Linked DNA regions of Homo sapiens: region 2 is linked to region 1. Evidence: promoter capture Hi-C in human tissues and cell types (Jung and others, 2019). All regions are on one chromosome and are shown on one strand. Each heading gives the region's core, a stretch centred on a gene start or on the middle of the fragment in contact. The rest is flanking DNA. Distances are from core to core; before and after follow the strand shown. Region 1 holds the start of POU5F1B (POU class 5 homeobox 1B). Region 2 has its middle 41 kb from the start of CASC11.

Region 1 (2,669 bases), core at 54-2,553:
GGACATTAAAAATTTACTCAATGTTTAAACATTTGCCTGTCTTATTCTAAAGCCCCTTCTCTTTTCACAATCCCTTTAAGAAATGGACATCCAATATTTGAGTGGCAGAGGCAAAAACATGGCCTACCAGAACCATTATGATAGCTTTACAATATGCCCACCAATTATTTGATAGTCCTCCTGCCAAATGGTGAAGGCTAATTACCCTCCTACAGAATGTGACTCACTTCTAATGAATAAAATATGGCACAAGTAAAAGTGTGCGATTTCAGAGACTAGGTCATAAAGAACGCAGTGGCTTCTTCCCTGCTCTCTCTTTCTTAGGTCATTCTCTCTGGGTGAATCCAGCTGACATGTTGTGAGGACACTCAAGCAGCTTTATGGAAAAGCCCACATGGTGAGCAACTGAGGCCTCCTACCAACAGCCAACAAGAAACCGGGGCCTTTGCCAACAGCCAAGTAAGTGAGACATTTTGGAAAGTGGATCCTCCAGCCCCCGTTAGGCTCCCAGATGACAACATCCCCTGCTCTCATCTTGACCACAACCTCATGAAATACCCTTATCCAGGATACCCAGTTAAGCCACACCACAATTGCTATTTTACAAAACTGTGAGCTATGTGTTAGTTGTTTTTAAGCTATTAAGTTTTGAGGTGATCTATTACACAATGATAAACAACTAATACACCCATCCAGTGCTGAAGAAAGGGGTTGTCAGGAGGGTAGAATTTGCACTATTAAATCTTCATAGAGTGCTATTTCCCGTCACTACAGCACACTTGTCACCAACTATAAAGAATTAGGTCAGGGAATTTCTTTGGTTGCAGCCCATTTTGCCTTTGGTTGTTAATGGTAGAACCGTTTCCCCACAATCTGCAGGAAATAAGAATCAGAAAGAAGGACACACCATTCCATAGCACAGAACACAAGTAGATGGCTCCCATGAAGAATCTAGCATCATGGTATGGCAGAAGCAGAATGGACTCAGGAATCATGGTGCCTACACTGGAATTTCAGATCGGCCACTGACACAATGGACACATTATTCAACATTTCCAAATCTTGGCATTCTTATCCACAAAGTGAAGATAATAATTGTCAATTCACAGGTGATTATGATTTAAAGAGATTACTTTTGAAGAGTTCCTAACACATTCAGTCAACATTTAATGATGCTTCAGGCACTGTGTTCATTGCTAGTGAGCGTATGACACACACAGCCATACGGTCACAGAGCTTTCAATGAAAAGTAACATAATTGCTCATTTCACCAGGCCCCCGGCTTGGGGCGCCTTCCTTCCCCATGGCGGGACACCTGGCTTCGGATTTCGCCTTCTCGCCCCCTCCAGGCGGTGGGGGTGATGGGCCATGGGGGGCGGAGCCGGGCTGGGTTGATCCTCTGACCTGGCTAAGCTTCCAAGGCCCTCCTGGAGGGCCAGGAATCGGGCCGGGGGTTGGGCCAGGCTCTGAGGTGTGGGGGATTCCCCCTTGCCCCCCGCCGTATGAGTTATGTGGGGGGATGGCGTACTGTGGGCCTCAGGTTGGAGTGGGGCTAGTGCCCCAAGGCGGCTTGGAGACCTCTCAGCCTGAGAGCGAAGCAGGAGTCGGGGTGGAGAGCAACTCCAATGGGGCCTCCCCGGAACCCTGCACCGTCCCCCCTGGTGCCGTGAAGCTGGAGAAGGAGAAGCTAGAGCAAAACCCGGAGAAGTCCCAGGACATCAAAGCTCTGCAGAAAGAACTCGAGCAATTTGCCAAGCTCCTGAAGCAGAAGAGGATCACCCTGGGATATACACAGGCCGATGTGGGGCTCATCCTGGGGGTTCTATTTGGGAAGGTGTTCAGCCAAAAGACCATCTGCCGCTTTGAGGCTCTGCAGCTTAGCTTCAAGAACATGTGTAAGCTGCGGCCCTTGCTGCAGAAGTGGGTGGAGGAAGCTGACAACAATGAAAATCTTCAGGAGATATGCAAAGCAGAAACCCTCATGCAGGCCCGAAAGAGAAAGCGAACCAGTATCGAGAACCGAGTGAGAGGCAACCTGGAGAATTTGTTCCTGCAGTGCCCGAAACCCACACTGCAGATCAGCCACATCGCCCAGCAGCTTGGGCTCGAGAAGGATGTGGTCCGAGTGTGGTTCTGTAACCGGCGCCAGAAGGGCAAGCGATCAAGCAGCGACTATGCACAACGAGAGGATTTTGAGGCTGCTGGGTCTCCTTTCTCAGGGGGACCAGTGTCCTTTCCTCCGGCCCCAGGGCCCCATTTTGGTACCCCAGGCTATGGGAGCCCTCACTTCACTGCACTGTACTCCTCAGTCCCTTTCCCTGAGGGGGAAGTCTTTCCCCCAGTCTCCGTCATCACTCTGGGCTCTCCCATGCATTCAAACTGAGGTGCCTGCCCTTCTAGGAATGGGGAACAGGGGAGGGGAGGAGCTAGGGAAAGAGAACCTGGAGTTTGTGGCAGGGCTTTTGGGATTAAGTTCTTCATTCACTAAGGAAGGAATTGGGAACACTAAGGGTGGGGGCAGGGGAGTTTGGGGCAACTGGTTGGAGGGAAGGTGAAGTTCAATGATGCTCTTGATTTTAATCCCACATCATGTATCACTTTTTTCTTAAATAAAGAAGCCTGGGACACAGTAAAAAAAAAAAAAAAAGAAAGAAAAGAAAAGTAACATA
Region 2 (2,669 bases), core at 125-2,624, 280 kb after region 1:
GGGGAGGCAGAGGTTGCGGTGAACTGACATCACCGCACCACTGCACTCCAGCTCCAGCCTCGGCGACAGAGCAAGACTCTGTCTAAAAAAAAAAAAAAAGAAGGCTGATGTAAATGAATGAATGAACCAACTAATTCATTGGTGCCCCACCCCTTGAGAATAGATGTCAGGAAACTGCCAAATTATTTAAAAGTGTAAATTAAGAAAATTCAAGATTCTCTTTTGGTTTAGACAGAAGGTTCTGGGGATGCCCAGAAGTAGGTGAACCTTGTTCTGAATTTAAAAGAAGACTCTGTAGGAAAAAGATTTAGCCCTTTGCTCAGCATGCAGTAAGCAAACTTCGAGGATTAGCTCCCTTTGCTTCTGTCACCTGCCACTTCCAGAACATGAAAGAACTTCCCTGCCCCACAGCTGCAGGTATCCCCATCATTCAATAGCGTGTGACCATCAAGTGCAGAAACTCACAGAAGAAACTTGACGTCAATCCCCAAGAAGCTTCCTTACTCATGAGCTAAATGGGTTTCAGCAAATTGTTGTACTTTTTTTTTGCCTCAAGTGTCTCATCGGTAAAATGGGAATTGAAATAGGTGTCTCTTCACACTTGTGTGGTAAGGATAGGATGAGACAATGTGTGTTACTTACCACAGTGTCTGGCACAATCATGACAAGCATTCAATAAATGCTGAACATTATCATTATCCAGCACTTATGCTGCAAGGCTGCAATGGAATATATTAAAAGTGTCAAAAAGATAAATTTAATAAACAGTGTTTTTAATGCCCCCATTAGTATGGATTGGAAGATTAAATCTGTTCTAATTCCTGCTGTCTGGGTAATATGCCAGCCAGGAAACCTCAAATATAAAACTGCTTCATCTACCTTTCATATAAGAAGAAAAAGAAATCAATGCATTTTTGTTCTCCTCTCTTATCCTTGGCTTATTTATATGCCCAAATAAGGTTACTGTACAAAACACAATTGTGTGGTCTATAAATAATGAACTGCTTCTCCATGTAGTCAGCATCAGCAGAGAAAAGTTCTAAATGGATTTCCTTTGCCGGCATCATTTTCTGCCCTACATCTGACCGTCAACGTAAATACAGGCAGCCCTGGTTGGCATATAAAAGGCCCAATTGACCTGTTGACCCAGTTTGCAGAGACGGCTCCATGCACAACCACTTTAGCAGCTGCTGTAGAAAAACCTTTTGGCCACACAAGCCAAAAGCTGCTCGTTCATTCACTGCAATTACTCCTTGAGCCCCCAGTGCTCCCGGCACTGGACTCAGAGACATTCCTGCACCATGCTTTGAGACACCCACTTCAGTCTAGCACTGGTGGACTTGAGTCCTGCGTCTGTTATGGACAAAGAATAACAAAGGCTTTTTAGTCATTCCTAAGAGAAGTGGCTGGCCTGGTGCAATGGCTCACGCCAGAACTTTGGGAGGCCAAGGTGGGAGCCGAGGAGTTCAAGACCAGCCTGGCCAACACGATGAAACCCTGTCTCTACCAACAATACAAAAATTAGACGGGCTTTGTGGCGCATGCCTGTAATCCCAGCTACTCTGGAGGCTGAGGCATGAGAATTGCTTGAAGCTGGGAGGCAGAGGCTGCAGTGAGCCAAGACCACACCACTGCACTCCAGCCTAGGTGACAGAGTGAAATTCTATCTCAAAAAATAAATAAATAAATAAAAAATAGAGACAGAAGAGAGGGAGAGAAGTGGCTGACCGTCATGCGGCAAGATTTAGTGAGAAATTCTACCTTAATCCTCTTCAGGATCCAGCTTTTCCTAGTGAAGTAGCAGATCTTCTCTATTTAGCAAACTTCCATATCTTTTTTTCCTTTCTGTTGCCCTCATCTGCCGTATTATTCCAGCTGAGTAATATAGAAAGGCAAAGTGATTCTATAGGCGTGGTTATAACCTCACAGAAATAGGAGGCAGTGAAAGAATGGGGGCTGTGGGCTGGGGGCTGAGTCCCGAGGGTCACTGTAAAAAAGAGCATTTCACGCACACAACGTTGTCTTGTGGAGGCTGGCAGTCAGGTAGTCACAGCTTCTCTCTCTCCACTGCCATTGGAAATCAGAGTCCCATGGTCACTGAAAGAAATCATAGTCAGTCTTCCTTCTAACTTTTTCCAGTTGACAAACAGCCATCCCATGTTTTTATTTCATTTGATACATACGTCCCTCTGTCATGGGAACACTAAGAACTTGTGAGGAAAAATAGCTTACCCAAAGCCACAGGGTTAGTAAATAGCAAATCCATTAGTGAAAACTGTGTTTATCCATTCTGGAACCCTCCATACAGCATGGTGGTGGTTAGCTGTGTAGCCTGTAAAGCTGGCTTGCCAGGGGTCAAATCCAGGCTCTGCCCTCGGGCCTCCTCATCAGTACAATGGGCATGCCGCTAATAGTGCCCATCTCATAGGGTGACTGTGAAAATATTATAATAAAAGCAGTTCTGTAATACATGTGGTTGGCACACAGTGAGTGCCCATGAAGACTTCCAGGTTACGACCGCTATCTTTGCACCAGACTTTCCACTGAGGCAGAAGCTGCTACTTGTCCCCCTTCTTCCAATAATAAAATCCCAATTTTCCAGCCTTTCTGGCGGCAAGGTGTAAATACAAACTCAGGTTTGTCCAAAGGGATATAAATGGAAGTGAGGT

What was found. The method cuts DNA at HindIII sites, captures the fragments that hold promoters and counts their contacts. A contact is called where the count stands out against the background at its distance.
Region 2: a fragment that was not itself captured here is called in contact with the fragment with the promoter of POU5F1B in region 1 in 1 of the 25 tissues and cell types used here (small bowel).

The regions. Positions count from the first base shown.
Region 1 is chr8:127,414,564-127,417,232 of GRCh38, forward strand. POU5F1B (POU class 5 homeobox 1B) reads left to right here and starts at 1,304. Exons shown (of 1, transcript NM_001159542.3): 1 at 1,304-2,383. The coding sequence starts at 1,304. The coding sequence ends at 2,383. All of the region lies in intron 5 of CASC8 (cancer susceptibility 8), which reads right to left. The HindIII fragment of the contact is 11,415 bases long and covers 1-2,669 here.
Region 2 is chr8:127,691,148-127,693,816 of GRCh38, forward strand. No RefSeq gene overlaps it. Among named protein-coding and RNA genes, the nearest start is that of CASC11, 41 kb to the right of the region's middle. The HindIII fragment of the contact is 9,197 bases long and covers 1-2,669 here.